7 separate regions of the Homo sapiens genome follow, and regions 2, 3, 4, 5, 6 and 7 are each linked to region 1. Evidence: promoter capture Hi-C in human tissues and cell types (Jung and others, 2019). All regions are on one chromosome and are shown on one strand. Each heading gives the region's core, a stretch centred on a gene start or on the middle of the fragment in contact. The rest is flanking DNA. Distances are from core to core; before and after follow the strand shown.

Region 1 (3,292 bases), core at 407-2,906:
CAGCTCTCCCTGGGCCAGTGTCCCTGGAAGATACCCCCCCAAACACTCAGCCACTTCCTCCCCACATGGGGTTTCCAGCTTTGGGCCCCATTTGGGGCCTGTGCAGCGCCTCTCCTACCCCCTCCCTCCTCCCGAGGTGGGTGCAAGTGTCCTGCGGCAGATGGAGCACAGAGTGGATAAAGAGCTGACGATCTCCAGGGGAAAGGTTGAGCGGGGCATGCACCCCTCACACAAGAGCCTTGCAAAGGGAGGGCTCCAGAAGACGGGATTGCCCAAGGAGGCTGCGGGGGTGCTGGGCTGCAGCCTCTTCGGCCCGAAGTTCAGGAGGCAGAAAACGCGGAGGGGTCTGCCCACCCTCCAGCTCCTCATCCACAATAGCCAAGCTCTTCTCAAAGGCAGCCTGTGCCTGCAGCAAAGCATCCCTCGACTGGCAGTGGTCATAGATGTCCAGGTGGGTGCGGCCGATGGTGGCCCAGGCCCTCTGCAGCTCCGTGTGGTTGCGCAGGGAATGTGCCAGCTCCAGGTACTGGTGCTGGTGCTGAGTGTGGAAGGAAGTCACTGCTGTGAGCCGACTCCGCCTCAAGCAAACCGGCACCGCCAGATTCCCAGAGACCCTGTTCTTGCTAAGGAAAGAGCCTGCTCCCCCTAACCCCCACAGAGCAGGCCAAGGCCAGACACGTGCCCCTCCTCTGCATGCCAAGGGCTCTCTGTGGTGACAGTGGCTTCACGCTGTATGCAGCCAACGCTGTCACGTGGGGAGGGGCAGCTGGGAGTTGGCGGGGGGGTTGCAGTCCTGCCTCCAGCAGCCAGGGTCAGGGAGAGCTTTTGGGATGGGGCCTGACCTCCCCCAACACAAACACAGCTAAAATAACGTTCAGTAATGGTTTCTGGTGCCAGGAAACCTACTCCTGCCCCAGTCCCAGGAAAGGCTGTGGGGTCCCCACCGGAGGACTGGCCCGGGGCGGTGAAGGCAAGGCTGCGTCAGGTCAGGTGTCCCCTCCAGCCCGAGGCTCCTGACGGCGAAGACCAGGCCTCCCTCCTCAGAAAAGGGCTCCAGAGGCCGACCGGGCTGGACGAGGCCAGTGAGGGCGCCCGCACCTGCAAGGCAGCCGGGTAGTCCTCCATCTCGGCCAGGCGCTCTCCGATCTTGCGGTGGGCCACGGCACAGCCCAGAGGGTCGTCAGCGCGCTCCCGAAGCTGCAGCTCCTGCCAGTGCTGCTCCAGAGCCTCGGCGTAGCGGCCTAGGCGGGGGCACAGCACGGCCTGGCAGGCGTCGCGGGTGCGAGGGCGGCCCTGGGGCGGCGTCTGCCGGAAGAGCCCGTCGCCCCCCGGCCCCCGATCCCGGCCCGGGCCCGGGCCCCGGCCCTGCCTCCCGCCTCCTGGTCCCGGCGCTCACCATGGCCGGCCAGGAGCTCCCCCAGCTGGTGGCACAGCGCGGCCTCTTCGCGCCGCTGCCCGGCCCTCTGCGCCTTGGCTTTCGCCTTGCTCAGCTCTGTGGGAGGAAGAGGAGGGCTGGGCCTCCGCGGCGGGGTCCGGGGCCGGGGCCGAGTCCCAAGCCCTCCCCAGCCTCCGCGCCCCCGGAGGAAGGGGTCCCCGAGGAACTTACGGCGAAGCTCGCGCTCCAGGCTCATGCTCGGATCGCCGCGGGATCCGGACTTCCCGCGCTGCGCCGCGGCCCCGCCCCTCGCCGCCGACACGCAGGCCCCGCCCCTCGCCGCCGACACGCAGGCCCCGCCCCTCGCCGCCGACACGCAGGCCCCGCCCCTCGCCGCCGACACGCAGGCCCCGCCCCTCGACGGCGGCGGCGGGCGCGGGGCATTCCGGGAAGTACGGTCGGCCCGCCCGCGGCATCCTCGGAGTTCTCGTGCGGGAGGAGCTGGGGCGGGGTGGCGGCGACAACTGGGGCGTCCCACCCTAGGGGCCGTCTTCCCGGACGCCGGGTTGGCCCGCGCGTGGAGCCCTCTGCCCGGCCCGGGGAGTGCCTGGTGGGGACCCCGTTCCTCCTCGTAGGCGGCGGGGACGCGGGAGGCCGGGGGCCCGGAGCCAGCCCGTCCGGGGTCGCAGCGCGCCCTGGGTGGGGTCTTCTGGGCTGCAGCCCCCGTGCCGCCCGCGCTACTCATGGTGGACGAGCTGTGCCGCCGCCCCAATTCCTCCCGAAATTCACACACACAGCCTGCTCACAGGCGCAACTATTAAAAACGAACGTAGTGTCCAGATAGACTGACGATAAATTCACGAGCATTTGGCTGTGGGGACGTAATAAGGTGTCAGGCGCGCTCCTCCTCCGCAGAACGCAGCTGGGTCACATTTGGGGACTCGGCCCCAAGGACTGTTTTGGGAGGGGAATGTGCTTTCCATAGTGAACAAGTATTGTTTCAGCAATGTGTATGCCAGCTGTATTCTCGGAAGAGTCAGTGAACCTGTGCTTCAGCTGCAGAAGTAGCCCGGGCACAGTGGCCCGCACTGTAATCCGAGCGCTATGGGAGGCCCGGTCAGGAGGATCGCTTGAGCCTAGCAGTACGAGACCAGCCTGGGCAACATAGTGAGGCCCCATCTTTCGTGTGTGTGTGTGTGTGAGACGGAGTCTCGTTCTGTCACCCAGGCTGGCGTGCAATGGTGTGATCTCGGCTCACCACAACCTCCGCCTCCCGAGTTCAAGCGATTTTCCTGCCTCAGCCTTCCAAGTAGCTGGGACTACAGGCGCGTGCCAGCATGCCCGGCTAATTTTTGCATTTTAGTAGAGACGGGGTTTCACCATGCTGGCCAGGCTGGTTTCAAACTCCTGACCTTGTGATCCGCCCACCTCGGCCTCCCAAAGTGCCGGTATTACAGGTGTAAGCCACCATGCCCAGCCCGATACCCCATCTTTATTTAAAAAAAAGAAAGGGAGGGAGGGAGGAAAAGAAAGAAAGGAAGAAAGAGAGGGCCGGGCGCAATGGCTCACCCCTGTAATCCCAGCACTTTGGGAGGCTGAGGCAGGCAGATCATGGGGTCAGTGGATCGAGACCATCCTGGCTAACACGGTGAAACCCCATCTCTACTAAAAATACAAAAAATTAGCCGGGCGTGGTGGCGGGTGTCTGTAGTCCCAGCTACTGGGGAGGCTGAGGCAGGAGAATGGCGTAAACCCGGGAGGCAGAGCTTGCAGTGAGCGGAGATGGCGCCACTGCACTCCAGCCTGGGCAACAGAGCGAGACTCTTGTCTCAAAAAAAAAAAAAAAAAGGAAGAAAGAGAGAAAACAACTGCAAAATTATGTCTAGAATCCTGTGACATGGGGCACCCAGGCCTCTA
Region 2 (3,292 bases), core at 347-2,846, 420 kb after region 1:
TTGTTTGAGACAGAGTCTCACTCTGTCACCCAGACTGGAATGCAGTGGAACGATCTTGGCTCACTGCAACCTCTGCCTCCCCGGTTCAAGCAATTCTCCTGCCTCAGCCTCCTGGGTAGCTGGGATTACAGGCACCTGCCACCACACCCGGCTAATTTTTGTATTTTTAGTAGAGACAGGGTTTCACCATATTGGCCAGGCTGGTCTCGAACTCCTGATCTTGTGATCTGCCCACCTTGGCCTCCCAAAGTGCTGAGATTACAGGCATGAACTATCACACTTGGCCAGCAAGGCGTTCAGTTTTAATGGAGTCTGCCAAGCCCTGGGCTTGGAGGTTCTGGATGGAAACATCCAAGAGTGGTGTCTTGAGGTTTTGAGGAGTGTTGCCCCATACTGCTGGCCAGAGGGTGAGAAATTTAGAGGATGGAAGTACCCCAGAGGGAAGTGAATACCCCGGAGGGGAGTGAGTACCCCGATTCCTCCTGGGAGAAGGGACCTAGGAGAGCCAGGGCGTCCCTACAGCTCTTTGCAGACCCCCAGAGGCTGCAGTGGCCAAAGTGGTGAGCATTCTGACGGCGTCCCCTGAGAGGGTAGGCCACGGTCACCTGGTGACCAGGGAGACCTCTCACCTGGTACTGGAATTTTCTGGTGAACCCCCAGAAATATGAGAGGAATCTGGAGAGGAAAAAAAGAGAGACTCACCCACTAATTGGAGACGGGTGTTGGATGTGATGTCCAGCAATGGGATTGATACTTGCTGGAGCTGCCTGGAAAGGGGAAGGAAGGAAAAAGAGGATGGAGAGTTTGATCAGGATCTGGAAGTCAGCCCAGGACCAGAGAAGAAGAGAGAATAAAGGAACGGAGCTGGGAATAGGGAGTCCATTCAGGATCTGGAAGCAGGCCTGGGTCTGGTTTTTGCTGCTTGCTGCTTTCCAGGTTGCTAGAAAACATTTACCCATTTAGAACCCAATTCCTATCCTGGGTTTTGGCACTAAAATGTTAGGTTTTGAAGGGAGGGCAAGGGCTAAAGAAACACACACACACACACACACACACACAGAGAGAGAGAGAGGAGAGAGAGGGGGGAGACAGACAGAGAGAGAGAGAGAGATTGTTGCTCAACAGCAACAACACAGGTATATTGCAAAAACCTGTGGAGATGGGGGACGAGCTTAACTCCAGAGCCCATAGCTGCTTATAGGCTGGGGAAATTTATAGGTGTGATGGTTAATACTGGAGAAATGTGAAAAGGCCAGACTGGCCTACCCTCCCAGCCTACATCTTTCTCCCATGCCGGATGCTTCCTGCCCTCCAACATCTGACTCCAAGTTCTTCAGTTTTGAGACTTGGACTGGCTCTCCTTGCTCCTGAAGCTTGCAGACAGCCTATAGTGGGACCTCGTGATTGTGTAATTTAATACTTCCCTTTTTATATATATTCCATTAGTTCTATCCCTCTAGAGAACTCTGACTAATACAGATTTTTGTACCAGGAGTGGTTCTGGAGGAAGAGGATATTAAGGATGGAGTTCTGTCATTGGTTTTGGGGTTTCTGGATTTGGCTGGTTAATATGATTAGACCCCAAAATGTTAAGGACTCTACTTCTAATAGTATGGAGAACACTGATAGTCCTTGGCATAAACTGTTTAGAGAGTTATGCAAAATAAATGCATTTGACACTCCTGATTCACCATTCATGAGAGGCAAGGAGTTTAGTGACCCTATACATAATATCTTTGACTATATGTGGAGAACCAAGGAACATGATGAAGCTGGTTGGTTGCTCCTAAGTTCAGTGGACAAAGTGATGAAAGAAAATGATGGCTGGGCTGGGCACAGTGGCTCACGTCTGTAATCCCAGCACTTTGGGAGGCTGAGGTGGGAGGATCATGAGGTCAGGAGATCAAGACCATCCTGGCTAACACAGTGAAACCCCATCTCTACTAAAAATACAAAAAATTAGCCAGGCGTGGTGGCAGGCGCCTGTAGTCCCAGCTACTCGGAAGGCTGAGGCAGGAGAATGGCATGAACCCAGGAGGTGGAGCTTGCAGTGAGCTGAGTTCGCACCACTGCACTCCAGCCTGGGTGACAGAGCGAGACTCCGCCTCAAAAAAAAAAAAAAACAAAAAAAAAAAGAAAGAAAACGATGGCTGGGCATGATGGCTCATGCCTGTAATTCCAGCACTTTGGTAGTGTGGGCGGCAAGCCACCCAGGTGCTGAGGCAAGAGACCGAGGGCACGAGCTGTTCCAGTATAATAAAATATATAAAACAACAAGTTATACTAGATCAGATCACAGACATGATTATATATGAATATCATTAATCATTAGTTTGTAGCAATTACTCTTTATTCCAATATTATAATAATCCTCACTCTATAATCATAACCTAGGAAAAACCAGGCCATACAGATATAGGAGCTGAGGGGACATAGTGAGAAGTGACCAGAAGACATGAGTGTGAGCCTTCTGTTATGCCCAGACAGGGCCACCAGAGGGCTCCTTGGTCTAGTGGTAACGCCAGCATCTGGGAAAACGCCTGTTGCCAAGTAGACCGTGGTCTAGCAGTAGCGTCAGTGCCAAGGAAAAATACCTGCTACTTAGCAGACCGGGAAAGGGAGTGTCCCTTTCCCTGGGGGAGTTTAGAGAAGACTCTAGTCCTCCACCTCTTGTGGAGGGCCTGACATCAGTCAGGCCTGCCCGCAGTTATCCAGGGGCCTAACCGTCTCCCTGTGATGCTGTGCTTCAGTGGTCACGCTCCTAGTCTGCTTTCGTGTTCCATCCTGTACACCTGGCTCTGCCTTTTAGATAGCAGTAGAAAATTAGTGAAAGTACTAAAAGTCTCTGATATGCAGAAATAATGGTGTAAGCTGTCTCTCTCTCTCCCTCTCTCTCTGCCTCGGCTGCCAGGCAGGGAAGGGCCCCCTGTTCAGTGGACACATGACCCACGTGGCCTTACCTATCATTGGAGATGGCTCACACTCCTTACCCTGCCCCTTTGTCTTGTATCTAATAAATATCAGTGCAGCCTGGCATTTGGGACCACTACCGGTCTCTGCGTCTTGGTGGTAGTGGTCCCCTGGGCCCAGGTGTCTTTTCTTTTCTCTTTGTCTTGTGTCTTTATTTCTATGCTCTCTCATCTCCGCACACGGGGAGAAAAACCCACCGACCCTGTGGGGCTGGTCCCTACAGGTAGGCCAAGGTGGGTGGATCACCTGAGGTCAGGTAATTAATGGAGTTTTAGCTCAGGTCCAACTTACAGCGGGTCCAGTGGGTCCCCAGACTCATCCT
Region 3 (3,292 bases), core at 440-2,939, 400 kb after region 1:
AGGGCCCTATCAGTTCCTTTTGCCCACCATTCCCATGACGCAGAGGCCCAGCAGGTGCAGGCACAGCTGAGAAACTCGGAGGTGAGGAGTGAGCCTGCTCTGTTGGGAGCTGGGGGGCCATTACCTCACCCCTCAGTTTTTTTTTTGCTGCTGACACAACCTTGAGAAGTGGCCCAGGTGGAGCACGGTGGGGTTCTTGGCACATGCAGGAACATGGAGGGAGGCGTGGCTGATGGCAGGTGGCTTGCTCAAGGCCTGATGCTTTTTTGCTGAAATTGAATTTTCACGTGAATCTGCTGCTCAACCCTAATCTAACAGGCTGGGACCTTGTCCATTTGATTTTCTCACACAGCATCTAATTAAGGCTGATATTCACAGGCATGAGGCCAACTGTAAGACCTCAACCCTGTCTCCACAGTCCTTGTCATTCAGGGGGAACCTGGAACTCCTGACTGGTGACCTCCCACCTGCCTCTTCAGGGGCTCCTCCCGGTGTACAAGGGTGATGGTGCTCTCCACAGCCATGGAGTCAGTGCATCCACTGTAACTGCCTCTTCTCCAGCCATGCCCTACTCACACCGGAACTTCTGTGCACGTGGAGTATGTGTGCAGTGTCCCTGCCTTGCGTCACGTGGCTGCTGAGAAGGGTCTTGGCAGGTAATGTGCTTAGCCAGGTGGTCACCTTCAGGTCTAGCACAGGGGTTGCTGTTGCTTTTTCTCTACTTCAGGCTTTCTGGGCCGCCCAACCATGGGACAAGAGCCAAGGCACCCACATGCACCGCCTGCAACTCCTGTTCCTGGCCTTCCAAAACACTGCTCACAAAGACTGACCCTGCCTCCTCCTGGGCTCTCGTCATCTCCTCTTGGCCACTTCCTGGTTCATGATCAGGACAGAAGGAGGGGAACGTCAGCCATATGGATGGTCTGAAAATTCCAGATTCTGTGCTAACCATAATGCTGTGTTCTTTTCACTAACAGCAACCAGCCAAAAAGGGGCTGGGGTGCAAGCTTCATTCTGCTTCAGCACCTGGATTCTCTCTGGATTGACATGGTCCTAAGTCAGGGGCTGGCAAACCATTCGTAGCTTTTTACATTTCTGAATGGTTGGGGAGAAAATAAGAGACTTGTGACATTTGAAAACTATGTTAAAATCGAATTTGACTGTGCACAGTGTCCCTGGGCTTGGTGATGCCCAAGCGTCTTCATGGAGCCTCTGGCGGCTTTCTTGCTGCAGCAGTGTTTACCACACCAGCCAAGTCACCTTGAACTTGGAAAATGACTTCATGCCCTCCAGCCACTGAAGGATTATTTTTCCTCTCAGCCCTTAGTGGTTTCTTTACCTAAATGTCACGGTACAACTGAGAATAAGGCAGCTGGGTCAGTTCAATAGAAGTAAACCTAAAGTCCAACAATCCAGGTTAGATATTAGCCACGGAGGGATGGGAGGAGGAGTCTTCTTTTTTTTTGAGACGGAATCTCGCTCTGTCCCTCAGGCTGAAGTGCAGTGGTGCGGTCTCGGCTCACTGCAAGCTCCGCCACCTGGGTTCACGCCATTCTCCTGCCTCAGCCTCCCGAGTAGCTGGGACTACAGGTGCCTGCTACCACGCCCGGCTAATTTTTTTGTATTTTTAATAGAGACGGGGTTTCACTGTGTTAGCCAGCTGGTCTCGATCTTCTGACCTCGTGATCCGCCCGCCTCGGCCTCCCTAAGTGCTGGGATGACAGGCGTGAGCCACCATGCCGAGCTGAGGAGGAGTCCTCTTCTAGCTGCACGATGTGGAAATGACACATCATGTCCATGGGGCAGCTTGCTGAGAGCCAAGGGTGTGAGCACATGACTTAAATTCAAGCTACTGCACAGCTTTGAGATCTGAGTATCACATGGAAGCATCCAGGTGGCCCCTGGCACACAGGCTGGTGGTTCTTTTGTGGAGAGGGAGAGGAAGAGGGGCTGCTCATGGGGTAGTGCAGGTGCTAGAATATCCTGTTAACCTGTTCACACTGCACTGCAATTCGGGCTTCGGTAAGCTCATCTAAAGAGTTTCCAGGCCAGGCACGGTGGCTCACGCCTGTAATTCCAGCACTTTGAGAGGCCAAGGAAGGATCACGTGACCCCAGGAGTTCGGAGACCACAGTGAGCTGTGATCGCACCACTGCACTCTAGCCTGGGTGACAGAGTGAGGCCCTGTCTCCACAATATATAAATAAAAACATTTTGGGTTTCTGTTTTGGAGACAATAAATTAAATCTATAACCTAGGCCTGGAATTGCTTTTTATCTCAACTATCAGAATAATCTTTCATTTATGACACTGAATTGAAACTATCTGGACCTTTCTGGAAGCTTCACAAAGTGAAGCAGAGCAAGGGCCGGGTCCAGGCCATTTTATAAATCCTCAAGTCCCCAGTGCATGCAGCTTGACTCAGAGCCCCAGAAATGTTTGCTGAATGAGTGAGTGATGCAGGTGGGGAGGCATCCAGGCTTTGAGCTCAGGACAGTGCCACAGGAGAGGGAAATCACCAGCAAGTTTCCACAGAGAACTAAGGCCAAGAAAACCAAGGGAGTAATTTCCCAGATGCAGACATCCGTTCTCTGTGCAAGGCCTTGTGCAAGCCACGGGGACAAAGATGGACAGGGCTGGCCTCTGCCCTGGAGTCCAGGTCTAATGGAGACTGGCCACTGACAAGGATGGACAGGTGCTCTGTACTGGAGGGGTCCAGTGGGCTCATGGGGTTGGCGCCAACCATGCCTGGACTAAGAATGGTTTTTCAATGGAAAAAAATACTTTGTGACACATGAAATTAAAATTTCATGGCTGGGTGTGGTGGCTCATTGCTGTAAAACCAGCACTTTGGGAGGCCGAGGTGGGCAGATCACCAGAGCCCAGGAATTCAAGACCAGCCTGGGCAACGTGGCAAAACCCCATCTCTACAAAAAATCTGAAAATTAGCCGGGTGTGGTGTGGTGTGCCTGTGAGCCCAGGAGGTTGAGGCTACAGTGAGCCATGATCGTGCCATTGCATTCCAGACTGGATGATGGGGAGACCTTGTCTCAAAAAAAAAGGAAAATTTCAATATCCATTAAAAAAATATCATTGGAGGCCAGGCTCGGTGGCTCATGCCTGTAATCCCAGCTGCCTGGGAGGCTGAGACATGAGAATTGCTTGAACCTGGGAGGCAGAGGTTGCAATGAGTCGAGATCGTGCCACTGCACACCAGCCTGGGCAACAGGAGTGAAACTCCCGTCTCAAAAAAAAAAAAAGATGGTATTGGAACACAGCCATATACATTTGT
Region 4 (3,292 bases), core at 410-2,909, 380 kb after region 1:
AATGGCCAGGTCCCAGAGCAATCAAAGGACTCTGTGTTTCTCAATCAGTAGAGAAAGAAAAGGGGGAACTGGAAGACCCTGTGAATCCCAATCTCAGCTAGGGATGAGCAATCCAGGCTGGCCCAGAGCATAAGCACCGTGACCATGTGAGGGCCTGAGTGTGCCTGGCTTTGGAGGGTCTGCTTGCTCAGTGGCCTCTAGACTCAGCCGGGCAGTGGATGCAGTGGATGGAGGAAGCCCCCTCGCCCCAGACAGGACCTCAGGGCCTCAGAGCCCTGGCATCTGCACCCTGGACACAAGGAAGGTGCCTATGAGGTGGATGCTCTAGCCAGGCTTTCTCCCCCTCCTGCTCCTGTGTTACCCTGGTGTGCCCCCCTCACCTGCAGCAGGCCAGGTTGGGGCATAGGGTTGCCGGCCCCTACCAGCCCTGGGGGTCTGGAGGGCGGCTGGGGAAGCAGACCCCCTGTCCTTCCCTATCCTTCGCGACATGCTCCCTGAGCAGCTGCAGTCCACTTAGATGACCAGAGAGGATGTGGGGCTGAGGGAGCCGAACTCGGGGCAGCAGGGGCGGGGGTGGGAGTGCCGGGATCATCCGCACCGGGAGAGGCGAGGCCGGCGTCTGTTTTTCACCTGGGCCTCCCTGGGGGGCTGGGGGCTGCCTGACTCTTCCCTCCTTTGGTTTGCGCAAGTTTTCCCGCGCGGGTTCGGATCAACACGCCGGGGGAGCCCGGCTTACGTCCCTCCTGGACCCCCGCCCCGTTCTTCCCGTGGGGAGGGGCGCGTCAGGCGGACCTGGCACCCTCCGGCTGCTGGGCTTCGCCGGGAGCCACGCGGGGAGGTCCAGGCAGTCGGGACGCAGGCAGCGTCCTCGCCGAGGCTGCGAGTCCGTGGCCGTCCGGGGGAGGCGCGCAGGCTCTGCCGGACGCAGAAGGAACCCGAAGGAGGCGGGGTGGAGGGCGGTGCGGGGCCGGGGAGGGGCGAGGCGAGTGGCGAGTGGACGCCGGGCCCGGCCTCGGGCAACTCCGAGGGGCGCCCTTCCTCGGGGTCCCGGAGGCTCTGCGACCCCGCGGCCGCTCCAGCCGCTCACTGGGGACAAGGCCCGAGCCAGGCGTCTCCGCGAGGCGGGGTCCATAGCGCGCCCAGCAGGCGCCTCCTGTCGCAGGGACGCGGGGGAGCGGCGCCTGAACAGCCTCGGTGGGAACCAGCGCCCGAAGCTGGTGATCCGGGGTGCGCAGGGCCCAACCGGGCGATCCCCTGGATCTCCGCCAGCCTCGCCCCGACTCCGCTCCTCCCACCCGCCAGCGAGTCCGCAACTCCCGGCCCCGGCCCGCGTCCCCAGCTCCAGGCCCCGGCCCCGCCCCGCCCCTGCTCAGGCACCGCCCACTCCGGGCTCTGGGCCCTCCTCTCCCTCGCGGCTCCGCCCCCTGCCCGCCTCTGACTGTACCCCGCCCCCAGGCGCCAGCCCCGCCTATCTGGGCTTCTGGTCCCGCCCAGGTTCTTGTCCCTCGGGCCCCAGCCTCGCCCCTCCTCGGCTCTGACTCCACCCCTTCTCCGGAGCCTGGGAGGCGGGGCTGAGAACCACAGAGATGGCCGGGCCTCCGAGCGGCCCAGGGCGGCCGGAAGTTTGCGGGGCGGGGCGGACGCGGGTGGCCAAGGCCCGTTTCCGGCGGCGTCGCGCGTTTGCGAGCCTCGGGTGGTCCTCAGGGAGGGTGAGTCGGCGCGGCGGGCGCGGACTCGGGTTGCCCTCGGTCCGAGTGATCCCTGGTCGCTTCCTTAGCCCTCCCGCCTTCGGCATTGGGGTCCCCGCGTCCCCCGGGCCTCCAGGCGGGAAAGCGCGGGGGCTTTGCGGGGCCTTGAGCGCCTGGTGTGGGAGGTGGTCGAGCCCAGCCACCCTCCCCCGCGGCGGCGCGAGGTGGGCTTCGTTTGGCCGAGTCTCGCAGCTCCCCGCAGACCCCGCTCGTGGCGGCCACGGTGTCCGGGGCCTGAGTAAGGCGAGCTCCAGCTGCGGCCTTTTCTTCAGGCCTGGGTCTACTCCCGGGGCCCTGACTCCTCCTGCGAAATCACCTCCTTCTAGAGCCTTTTCTCTTTCTATTTATTGCCCCGGAAGGCCTAGGATAAGTGACAGTGGAGGAAGGAACGGTGCCTTGGGTGGGGTAGGCTGTTTGTCTTCTCTAAATTCTGGTTGCTATTCCGGGCATTCCTACTGTCAGGAGCCAGGTGGGGGGATCAGCCTACCTGTGCCGGTGACCTGGGGCTTCCACCCACAAACCACTTTCTGGGCCAGAAGCTGCCATACGAAGACTCTTTTTCCCATTCCGACCTCCCGGGGGAATGCCTGGGCAGGTAGAGGGTCTGGGGTCATTGGCTTAATTGAGGTGAACGATTTATATCAGATTACATCCCTGTGCCTGGTTCCATCCTGGCGACAGGTGAGCTGGAGACTGGAATTTATGTACTTGAGGGCAGGGGTTTCCATGTCCACTCTTGTCTTCCCTACAGTTTGTCATTTTTGCTCCTGCCTTCTCCAACCTCCAGTCGCTCACTGCCTTCCCCAACCTCCAGTCGCTCACTGCCTTCCCTTGCTGCCGGGAATTTACCCACACTGGTTCATCCAACCCCATTTCTTCTTGCTTCAGGCCCTTTCACATGCTATTCCTGCTGCCTGGAGTGCTCTCTCCACCTCCATTACCTTGGCCGAGGTCCCTGGGGAAGTGACCCATTACACTGAACGTTCTAGTCTAAGTGGCTTTCATAGTTCCCTGTACTTGAGCGCTGTCGTGGTTGCAGTGTGCTTATTTGTGTGGTTATTTAACTCTTTCCTCCGCCAGACTGCTTCGTGAAGGCAGGGTCCTCGTGTCCACTACTGTATCCCCATTACTCAGTGCCTGGCACGTGGCATCCACTTCTTACGGCTTTGTGGAGTGAGTCACACATGCCACACACACATACACTCTAAAGAGGAACAAGAGTTCAGTGGGCCTCCTTCACTCAAGTGCCATGGCTGCTTCAGCCCAGCCCCATGTCCCTGCTAGAGAAATCTGGGGCTGGAGGTAAAGGAGCAGAGAGCACAGTACCCCCTTGATTAGCCTGGAAGTTGGGCTTCTGGCACCTTGACCTCTAATCCTTTCATAATTGCCAACAGGTCTCTCGGCCAGAACACGTGGATGCCCACCCACCACTGAGCCTCATGGTAGGAAGCTTGACTGCCTCCTTCCCCTCGCATGTCCTGTGAAGGCCCACCTCCTGCTCTGCCCACTGGCCCTGGGCCCAGACCCTACCTTGGCCCTTGCTG
Region 5 (3,292 bases), core at 459-2,958, 350 kb after region 1:
ATCACCTAGAATGCTGGCTGAGCTCCAAGCGCAGGGAAGCACCCCCCTCACCATGTGTGAGACGTCAGGCCGGCCACTCAACCTGACGTAAGACACTTGATTCAGCCTGCCCCATCTCAGCTTTACTTATTCCAGGAACACAACCTCAGAGCCTCCCCTGTGCGAGGCTGAGTTCATCACAAGGATTCCAAGATGTTCCCAAACAGCACAGTGAGTTAACCTAGACTCAAATCCTTTTTCACTCACTCAGTAGGCGTCTTTGAGAAAGCCACAATCTCTCCCTGCCTTCTCTAAAAAGGCTGTTAACCAACTGCATGCAAGTGCAGCAATCAGGAAGCCCACGGTAGAATCCAAGACCCTGGTGACTTCGTCCCAATCTCATTTAACGCCTCAACAGCAGTAAAGCAGGTACTGTTGTGCCTGTTGTACAGTGATGACAACTGAGACTACAGGATGAGCTCAAACTTACAGAACCCAAGTTTTAGAACAACAGGTAATCGAATTCCAGGGACCAAGTCTAGCCACTGGCTGTCCACCGGCACTCACAGCATGTTCACCCACAGCCCTCAGCATTCAACTGCTGCCTGATACTCACCAACCACAGCTCTGTTGGCTGAGGAGATAACCTTCTTGGAGCCGGAGGGCAGCTTCACACGGGTCTTCTTGGTCTCAGGGTTGTGGGAGATAACGGTGGCATAGTTCCCTGATGCCCGGGCCAGCTTGCCACGGTCTCCAGGCTTCTCCTCCAGGCAGCACACGATTGTACCCTCAGGCATGGTGCCCACAGGGAGCACATTGCCAATGTTGAGCTGGGCTGCAAGGGGAAGCAGCATCAGGCCGTCAGCACAGTAAGAAACAATGCGAACCCCCTCGCTCTAGGCAACCCGCGAAGTTGCGAGCACAGCATTCAACATCCAGCCTCCCGGTACAACTCTCTCGGCACCCACCGGTGGCCACTGGTCTGGCCACGCGGATGTCCCCACCTGAAGCTTCTGCCTGCGAGGTTCCCATATCGGCTTAGGACGTTAACTCCTCAGGCAACACCCAGACCCCTCCCCACCCCGACCTTCCTTCCCCGCCGCGATGCTAACCCTTCTTGCCGCAATACACAAACTGGCCCGTGTGAATGCCCTCGGCGGCAATGAACAGCTCCGTCCGCTTCTTAAACCGATACGGATCCCGGAAGACCACCTTGGCGAGGGGCGCGCCGCGGCCCGGGTCGTGGATGATGTCCTGTGGGCAGAGGCGGCGTGAGTGCGGCGTTCCGGCCGGGCGTCCCTTCCCCTCCCGCCCCGGCCAGCGTTCCGCACCTTGACGATGCCCTTGATGTAGCCGTGCCGCTCAGCGAAATCCACGGCGCGCAGGCGCGCAGCGCCTTTACGGTGCTTCACGTGCGCGCGGAACACAGACCCGGCGCCCTTCCTCTGTCCACGGATCACACGGCCCATGGCGACGGGTCCTGGGGGCGACTCACGATTAGCGCGGCCGGGCGGCCCGGGTACCCCCGCCAGCCCGGCTTTCCGGGACCCCGCCCCCGAGGCCGCCGCGCCCACCACTCCCTACCCTCTCCGCGGGCGCCCGCACCGGCATCCTCTCAGGAGGGCCGGTCCGGGTCTCAGCGCGCCTCACGGAAGAGGATGGCGGCGGATACTGCCCATGCCGCAAGGCCGCAAGGATGACCTACCTGTTCACCAGCGCGGCCGAAAGAGGAAACACGGCGTCAGCGAGCGGCCTTATCTTCCGGGGCGGGGCCCAGGGCCGCGACACCTTCCGGGCGCGCCACGGCCAGCCTAGCGCGGTGCACGCCGGGGCTTGTAGTCACCAGCGGCCGCCGGCCCCGCCTACTTCTCCTCCTCCAGGGCCCCCGCGCAGGCGCACCAGGAGACGCGGCTGAAGGTGTCCTGGTGTGCGTGGGCTCGGAAGGAGGGTGCAGGAGTGCTCGGCTTTCACCGGGGTCTCCGGGAGGGCAGGTGTTTTCTGAGTGGCCGAGGAGGCGCCAAGTGGTTGAGTGACCTGTCCAGGGTGTCACAGAGCGACCCACTCCGGGCCACGGGGTCTGGGGCTCCCGGCTTGCCTGGTGAGGGGCTTCCGTGTAGGCCGAGGGGGTTCTCGCTGGTGCAGAGCAGGAGATGGGCAGGGGAGACGCGTGGACCCACTCGTGGAACGTCATGGTTTGCAGGTGGCAAATGTCCGTCTCCCTGATGAACGGGCGCTTCTGGACGCGGGGACCTTATCCACTGTAGGCCCTTGGAGAGGTCGGGCGTCGAGGAGAGGAGCCCCGGGATCCTTGCCGAGGGTGAGGGCCGGCCGGCCCAGGAAGTGGGGAGGGCCAAGCTGGAGGGTCCCGGGTCGAGGAAGAAGGAGCGGGGATGGGCTGGGTCACATGCTGCGGAGTGGACGAATAATGGGAGACTGGACCGTACCCTGACCAGAACCCTGTGCGGGAGAGGTGGGGAAGGAGCAAGAAATGGAGGCTGGGAGGGGCTGTGGGGGCCTGAGCTGGAAAGAGTCAGCCCGACTGGGGGTGTCCTGCGGTACGTGCTGTGGAGAGGGGCTTCGCGGAATCGGGCCCCTAACGGGTGGGACCCCGAGGCCGCGGGTGGGGGATGGTGGGGAAGAGGTTTTCCAGGAGAGAGTCCCTGGCTGAGTGAGCACTGTCGAGCACACGCGAGGCCGTGGGTGGGGAGGCAGCAAGGAGGTGAAGGCGGGGGTCCCAGTGGGCGGGAGAGGCTTGCTGTCGGTACTGGGAGGTGGGGTGTTTCCTAGACCCTGCAGGGGCTGAGGCAGGGTTGACATCGTGAGAAGGAGACAGGAGAGGGTGGAAGGGTGTCCTGTGCCCGCTGTTGCTCACAGGGGAGAGGAGGGGCTGCTGCAGGAGGCCCTCCCCTAGGGTCGGCAGGGGGATGGAGGAGGAGCTGCCCGGTGGGGACTCAGGAAGCAGCACAGCCCACAGCTAGGGCCAGGGGCTGAGGGGCAGGACTGGACCCTGGGGGCAGGGTGAGGGGTTCTGGGGTCAGCCCAAAATTGGCCCACAGGCCCAGCCTGTCCGTCACTCCTGAACAAATCTGCTTCTCTGGAGGAGCAGAAGGAGAGTTGGGTGCGGGATAGAGGTGAGAAGAGTGCTTGGACACACAGGCTGTGGGGTCCCCAAGATGGTCTCACGGGTCTCTGGGATGAGATGCGGCTACCAAGACCCTACGTGCAGCCAGGAGACTGACCAGGCCGCTTTAAGGCTGGAAGAGACATGGCCCTGCCAGCATCCACCTGACAGTCCTGAGGACTGTGTGACTGG
Region 6 (3,292 bases), core at 538-3,037, 310 kb after region 1:
TTCCTTCCCCTGCTCCAGCTGGGAGATCAACTCCGGCTTAGGGACAGGGAATCCTGTTGAGGATGAGGACACTGGTGAGCTGGCATGGCCCACTGGGCCTTCCAGGCCAGGTGTGGAGAGATGGGCCCTGTGTGCACGTGTGTACGCCTGCACGTGTGTTGGTCAGGGGGCCCGTGGGCTGAGACTAAGTACTGAAGGAGAATCCACTCATCAGCTCTCCTGCCACTGGAGGGACACCAGTGGGGCCACTGGCAACAGGGAGTGAAGTCCCTAGAACTGGGGAGCAAGGCAGGCTTTTCCCATGGGAAATGTTCCTTCTGTAGAGATCAGACTGATACCCGGGGACAAGGGGCAGGACCCTCTTCTTTGGGATCCAAAGAGCCAAAGCAGCCTCCCAAGCTCCTCAGAGGCCCCCACTGCGAACCAGGCCAAGTGCAGAGAGCCTCACCCAGAGAGGCCACGTTCCCATAGTTCTCCAGCATCACATCCCGGTAGAGCGCCCGCTGCTGGGGGCCCAGCTGCCGCCCCTCCGCCTGAGAGAAGTACACGGCCACATCCTGGAAGGTCAGCGGCATCTCCTGCAACAAAACATCGCCGCTGCCCAGGCCATGCCCACGGGGCAGCAGCCTGCACTAAAAGGGCCCTGACCTGGTGGGGCCCCACTACCCAGGGCCCTGCTGTGGTCAGTATGAACTGTGTATCAGCAGGTCCCTGATGGGGCAGCTGAGAGCGCTGAGGACCAGCCAACTTCAGCTACACGGGGACCCAGCTGAGCTCAGAGCCCCTCTCCCTGCAGGAGGGCGAGTCTACCTCTCAGAACCCTTTCCTCACGGTTGCTATGAGCCCCTGGCTGGCCTTACCAGTTGCCGGGCTCACGGCTCCAGAGGAGAGTAGCTTCTGACTGGGATGGGGATGAAGATGAAGAGGTGGGCAGGAAGGAGGGTTAACTCACCTGGTGCCCTGGAAGCTGGAATGTGGCTGCCATTCTGTGTGCATGGGCTGCTGTGGTTTCCAAGAGAAGACAGGAGACTGCCCTGGCCTGAAGTCTCCCCGAACTTACCTTCAGTGGGGAGAACTCAGGCTCAGCCCCATTCAACCAGGGGTGTGGAAGGATGGCCAGGAGGCAGAAGCTGATTGCTGCTGTGGCCTCCTGGGTCGCGGGAGGCAGGTCACTATGCAGCACGGGCCGACGTGCCCTACTGCTCAGTGACTCCTGAAATCCCAGAACGGCCAGAGCCAGAGCCCGGGGGGATCCAGGGACGCCCGGCTAAGGGGTGAAAGCTGGCAGTTCCCGTGGTCCAGACCTGCTGAAGGCCCTGGAAATGGGGTGCAGGGCCGTTCTACCTGCCTGGCCAACCTGGGGCAAAGAGCCACGTGAGGGTGCAGCCTCACCAAGGCTGAGGACGTGAGAAGGAGGCCGCGGGGATGCTGCCGAAGGCCCCAGGCTCCGGGGAGAGGCCGGAAGCCAGCTGTGGTCCTCAGTCCAGCCTTCTAGGGCCGCGCCGCGGTCGCCTCCTCCCGGCCTCTGCAGCCCGTCGGTGGCTCCCGCGGCACCCAGAACAGGCTCCTCCTGGACTGGCCGCCGCCTCCCCGCGCCCTCCCCGCGCCCTCCCCGCCTGCCTGCCCGCTTGGCGCTCCTTCCTGGTCCGACACTGCCCCACCTGTTTGCTCGACCCGGGGAAGCCACCGAGGAAGCGCCGAGGAGCTGCGCAGTCGCACCGAGCCCGGAACGGACCCTCCCACAGAACCGGGTCCAGAGCCGGGGAGGGGGCGGGCTAGGATGAAGAGGGCGGGCCGGGCCGAGCTGCGCACACGCAGGCTTCCCCGCCCCCTGCGGGGCCTCAGTACGCCTCCGAGAACGCCGGGAACCGGAAGCCAGCCGCGGTTCCGCCCGGATTCTTCCGGGGCCGCTCTGGGATGACTGGAGGCCTGCGCCGTCTATGGTCGGGGAGGGGGAGAGCCCACGGCAGCTGAGCGGAGGGTCTGGCGCGGTGACGCTGCGCATCCGGGCCGCGCCGCGCTCGCCCCGACCCTAAACCCTCACCTGAACCCTAACCCCGCTGGGCTCCCGGCTCCCCCGTCGGTCACCATACATCGTGTGTCCCGATTCACCATAACCACCAGAAAGTCGCTTATGAAGATGTTACAATTATCGGGGCTCAGAACACAACGCCCCAAAATGAAGGCCTGGGAGGCAGTTTCCCTCTGACCTTCCCAGGCCTCCAGTCTCAGTTCTTTTCTCCCGCGAGGCTCCTCACAGAGTGAATCCCTTTTACCCAAGGCGAGTCCCAGAGGCCAGACCCCCAAAGCCAGCCACAAAACCTAAAAACACGACTCTGATGTTCCCCCCGCTTTTCTGTGTGAAAACTGGCGGTAAAGGCCGGGCGTGGTGGCGGGCGTCTGTAGTCCCAGCTACTCCGGAGGCTGAGGCGGGAGAATCGCTTGAACCCGGGAGGCGGAGGTTGCAGTGAGCCGAGATCGCGCCACTGCACTCCAGCCTGGGTGACAGAGCGAGACTCCATCTCAAAAATAAATAATAAATAAATAAATAATCCATTTATTTGCCTTTTCTCCAAAAATCTGCCTTTTATGAGTTGGCTTTCAGTGAACCTTCAGAGGGCAAAGAGGAACTTTCCCTTTGGCCCCTACACAATAAAGCATGGTTGAAAAAATAGCACTTGATAAAGGTGAGGAGACCAGCTTAGGAGCAGGGGGAGAAGGAAAGGAAAGCCAAGCCATCTTGTCACCCAGAATATAGTGTAGGCCCTGTACACTGTGTTAGAATCAAGGCAGAAATTTTATATCTGAACTTGAGACGATCAACGAGGATGGAGAATGTCTAGAAGTCTAAAGCACCATGCAAAGTCACACATGATTAAGAAGATGCCTTACATTATTAATATCAGTGCTGGGGAGATTGTGGAGAATTACGCACTGCTATGCTTGAGGAAGCGTGTTTAGTACAATGTTGAAAATGAATTAAGCTGTACATAAAGAGCCTTAAACACTTCAATTAATCTAGGAATCTATCCTATGGAAATAACAAAAATGACAAAGAGAAGGGTGCCCATTCCAGAGTTTGTTGTGTGTGTGGTTTTTTTTAAATAATGGGGAGAATTTGGAAAATAGCTAGTTATTCATAGAAGGGGAAATGGAAGATAATTATGCTTTTTGCAGCACAGAAATAGATAAATCTATTGTCTTCTGTACACTCAGTTGAACATTATGCAGCCATTATGTGTGGTATTTGAAAAAAAAGTATTGGCAGAGGGTAATGCTTATGAAATAGAAT
Region 7 (3,292 bases), core at 485-2,984, 280 kb after region 1:
ACGCCCTGTCTCTGAAAAAAAATTTTTTTTAGTGAAAGAACCCAAACATTGAAGAGTGTATGCTGTAAAATTCCATTTATAAAAAGTTCAAAACCAAGCAAAACTCAGTGATTATCCCTGGGGCAGTAGTGCCTGGCAGGGACACCACTAGGCTTCTGTAGAGCTGATAATGCTTTGTTTCCTAATCTGTGCCGGTTCCATGGCTGGGTCTGATTTGTAAACATTCAATAAACAATACAATTTGTGTACATAGTCCCTAACAAGAGAGGCAGCCTGTCCTTTGAAGCTTTGAAGCCAGGCATTGCCTTCTCTCTAGCTATGGGAGTCCTAGATGGCATCTTCTTGCAATAGAAGGCTGTTTTGTCTACACTGAAAATCTATTATTCAGTGTAGCCACCTTCATCAATCATCTTAGCTAGGTCTTCTGGACAACGTGCTGCAGCTTCTCCATCAGCAGTGGCTGCTTCACCTTGTGCTTTTGTTATGGAGACTACGTCTTTCCTTAACCCTCATGAACCAACCTCTGCCAGCTTCAAGGTTTTCTTCTGCAGCTTCCTTACCCCTCTCAGCTTTCGCATAATTGAAGAGAGTTGGGGCCTTGCTCTTGAGGCGAAGCTTTGGCTTAAGGGAATGTGTCTGGTTTGATCTTCTATCCAGACAGTTTGAGGGGGACTGAAACTGTCTCCATATCAGCAATAAGGCTGCTGTACCTTCTTGTCATTCATATGTTCACCAGAATAGCACTCCCAATTTCCTTCAAGAACTTTACTTTTTACTGTTATTTTCTTTTTGAGACAGGGTCTCACTCTGTCACCCAGGCTGGAGTGCAGTGGTGTGATCATAGCTCACTGCAGCCTCAAACTCCTGGGCTCAAGCGATCCTCCTGTCTCAGCCTCCTGAGAAGCTGGGACTACAGGCTTGATCCACCACGCCTGAAGAAGTTTTGCTTTGCATTCACAACTTAGCTAACAGACGCAAAAGGCCTGGCTTTGGCCTGTCTCAGTTTTCACCGCACCTTCCTTACTAAACTTGGTCATTTCTAACATTTGCAATAAAGCGAGAGGTGTGTGACTCTTCCTTTCATTTGAACACTTATAGGCCATTCCAGGGTTATTAATTGGCCTAGTTTCGATATTGCTGAGTCTCAGGGAATATGGAGGCCCTAGGAGAGAGAGAGGGAGGTAGGGAATGGCTGATCAGTGGGTCAGGACAGCCAACACTCATCGATTAAGCTCACCGTCTCATACAGGCAGAGTTCATGGTGCCCTTGAAACAATTACAATAGCAACATTAAAGATCGCAGATCACAGAGCACCATAACAGATATAAAAAAAAGGTTTGAGGCCAGGCGCAGTAGCTCATGCCTGCAATCCCAGCACCTTGGGAGGCCGAGACGGGCGGATCACGAGGTCAGGAGATCGAGACCATCCTGGCTAACATGGTGAAACCTCATCTCTACTAAAAATACAAAAAATTAGCCGGGCGTGGTGGTGGGCGCCTGTAGTCCCAGCTACCCGGGAGGCTGAGGCAGGAGAATAGCATGAACCCGGGAGGCGGAGCTTGCAGTGAGCCGAGATCGCGCCACTGCACTCCAGTCTGGGCGACAGAGCAAGGCTCCGTCTCAAAAAAAAAAAAAAAAAGGTTTGAAATACTGCAAGAATTACCAAAATGTGACACAAAGAAGTGAGCACGTGCTGTTGAAAATGGCACTGACAGACTTGCTCAACACAAGGTCGTCACAAACCTTCAATTTGTAAAAAAAAATGTTCGCCAGGCGCAGTGGCTCGCACTTGTAATCCCAACAGTTTGGAGGCCCAGGGGGGCAGATCACCTGAGGTCAGAAGTTTGAGACCATCCTGGCCAACATGGTGAAACCCTGTCTCTACTAAAAATACAAAATTAGCCAGGCATGGTGGCGCGCGCCTGTAATCCCAGCTACTTGGGAGGCTGAGGCAGGAGAATCACTAGAACCTGGGAGGCGGAGGTTGCAGTGAGCTGAGATCGCGCCATTGCACTCCAGCCTGGGCGACGAGCAAGACTCCATCTATGGAAAAAAAAAAAAAAAAAAAGCAGCAGTATCTGCAAAGCCACAACAAAGTGAAGTGGAATAAAATGAAGTGTGCCTGACCTATATTCATGTTAAAATTTAAAAATACGAGTTTACTCCTAAAGCTCCTGGTTATAAAAGTCAAAAGAAAAATTGGGATAAAAACGAAAACAAAATTTTATGTCATTTTCTCCATGCGTAGTGCCCTTTTAGCAAGCATATAAGATTCCTTTTATTTATTTATTTTTATTTTTTTTTTTTTTTTTGTGAGATAGAGTCTTGCTCTGTCGCCCAGGCTGGAGTGCAGTGGCGCAATCTCGGCTCACTGCAAGCTCCGCCTCCCGGGTTCACGCCATTCTCCTGCCTCAGCCTCCCGAGTAGCTGGGACTACAGGCGCCCGCCACCACGCCCGGCTAATTTTTTGTATTTTTAGTAGAGACGGGGTTTCACTGTGTTAACCAGGATGGTCTCGATCTCCTGACCTCGCCATCCACCCGCCTCGGCCTCCCAAAGTGCTGGGATCACAGGCGTGAGCTACCGCACCCGGCCTAAGATTCCTTTTAAATGCCAGGGTCCTCCCTGATGTCTCATATCAACGTAACTGCCCGCTTAAAAATAGATCTCTTGGGATGGGCATGGTGGCTCGCGCCTGTGATCCCCGCACTTTGGGAGGCTGAAATGAGAGGAGAGCTTGAGCCCACGAGGTGGAGGCTGCAGTGAGCTGAGACCGCACCTCCGCACTCCAGCCTGGGCAGCAGAGTGAGACCCTGTCTCTGAAGAACCAAAACCAAAACAGATCTCTCATCAGGCTATCAACAGGTTACATGTGTTTTTTGTGACTACTCAGATAAAGATGTTCAATTGTAACAGTTTCTCAACATTGCAGGCAGGGCTGAGCCCACCCAGGGCTGGCGTTGTTCCCAGGAGCGGGTGCCCTCACCCACCAACTCGAGGCCGCTCACTCACTGTGCAGCTGTATGGCAGGCCCAGCAGTGCCTCTCCCTTCGTACATCACCAGAGTCGGCTGAAAAGTGCCAAAAGAGAACTCAGGAACCAAACAGGGAAGTGGAGAGCCATGTTTTATCCACCGGGCCTAAAGCCCCTCCAGGCGCGGGGCCCAGAGCGCCAATCCCTGGACTGAAAGAGCAGCAAGGGTGGGCTCTGCTGCCGCCCAGAGGCCTTCCGTGGTAAGACAGCCACGGAAAGCACAGCGCGTGCCGCTGCGACGGGGCGTCCCGGGGGTGA

Evidence for each region. Contacts are between HindIII fragments. The study calls those that stand out against the background at their distance.
Region 2: a contact is called between a fragment that was not itself captured here and the fragment with the promoter of TONSL in region 1, in 1 of the 25 tissues and cell types used here (lymphoblastoid cells).
Region 3: a fragment that was not itself captured here is called in contact with the fragment with the promoter of TONSL in region 1 in 1 of the 25 tissues and cell types used here (spleen).
Region 4: the fragment with the promoter of ZNF7 here is called in contact with the fragment with the promoter of TONSL in region 1 in 2 of the 25 tissues and cell types used here (dorsolateral prefrontal cortex and small bowel).
Region 5: a contact is called between the fragment with the promoter of RPL8 here and the fragment with the promoter of TONSL in region 1, in 3 of the 25 tissues and cell types used here (dorsolateral prefrontal cortex, mesendoderm cells and small bowel).
Region 6: a contact is called between the fragment with the promoter of ZNF251 here and the fragment with the promoter of TONSL in region 1, in 4 of the 25 tissues and cell types used here (IMR-90 fibroblasts, bladder, heart right ventricle and 1 more).
Region 7: a contact is called between a fragment that was not itself captured here and the fragment with the promoter of TONSL in region 1, in 2 of the 25 tissues and cell types used here (dorsolateral prefrontal cortex and spleen).

The regions. Positions count from the first base shown.
Region 1 is chr8:144,442,784-144,446,075 of GRCh38, forward strand. It overlaps TONSL (tonsoku like, DNA repair protein), which reads right to left and starts at 1,657. Exons shown (of 26, transcript NM_013432.5): 1 at 1,607-1,657; 2 at 1,397-1,492; 3 at 1,099-1,241; 4 at 355-538; 5 at 1-23. The coding sequence starts at 1,631. RefSeq lists an enhancer at 549-1,057 and silencers at 1,303-2,072, 2,113-2,252. The HindIII fragment of the contact is 9,197 bases long and covers 1-3,292 here.
Region 2 is chr8:144,867,357-144,870,648 of GRCh38, forward strand. No RefSeq gene overlaps it. Among named protein-coding and RNA genes, the nearest start is that of COMMD5, 16 kb to the left of the region's middle. The HindIII fragment of the contact is 3,133 bases long and covers 31-3,163 here.
Region 3 is chr8:144,845,252-144,848,543 of GRCh38, forward strand. It overlaps a transcript of ZNF7 not described here and a transcript of COMMD5 not described here. Among named protein-coding and RNA genes, the nearest start is that of COMMD5, 6.2 kb to the right of the region's middle. The HindIII fragment of the contact is 4,508 bases long and covers 1-3,292 here.
Region 4 is chr8:144,825,901-144,829,192 of GRCh38, forward strand. ZNF7 (zinc finger protein 7) reads left to right here and starts at 1,660. Exons shown (of 5, transcript NM_003416.4): 1 at 1,660-1,709; 2 at 3,143-3,190. The coding sequence starts at 3,188. LOC100130027 (a long non-coding RNA gene) reads right to left here and starts at 1,140. Exons shown (of 5, transcript NR_147501.1): 1 at 1-1,140. RefSeq lists a silencer at 851-1,980 and enhancers at 1,312-1,837, 1,838-2,363, 2,364-2,889. The HindIII fragment of the contact is 13,991 bases long and covers 1-3,292 here.
Region 5 is chr8:144,790,682-144,793,973 of GRCh38, forward strand. RPL8 (ribosomal protein L8) reads right to left here and starts at 1,709. Exons shown (of 5, transcript NM_001317782.2): 1 at 1,311-1,709; 2 at 1,092-1,233; 3 at 596-814. The coding sequence starts at 1,448. MIR6850 (microRNA 6850) reads right to left here and starts at 1,310; the gene lies at 1,250-1,310. RefSeq lists enhancers at 1-388, 2,801-3,292 and a silencer at 1,411-1,630. The HindIII fragment of the contact is 17,129 bases long and covers 1-3,292 here.
Region 6 is chr8:144,753,744-144,757,035 of GRCh38, forward strand. ZNF251 (zinc finger protein 251) reads right to left here and starts at 1,788. Exons shown (of 5, transcript NM_138367.2): 1 at 1,662-1,788; 2 at 953-1,060; 3 at 449-578; 4 at 1-53. The coding sequence starts at 985. All of the region lies in intron 2 of LOC107986986 (a long non-coding RNA gene), which reads left to right. The HindIII fragment of the contact is 22,211 bases long and covers 1-3,292 here.
Region 7 is chr8:144,727,040-144,730,331 of GRCh38, forward strand. The region is part of intron 4 of ZNF251 (zinc finger protein 251); the gene reads right to left. Among named protein-coding and RNA genes, the nearest start is that of ZNF251, 27 kb to the right of the region's middle. The HindIII fragment of the contact is 6,507 bases long and covers 1-3,292 here.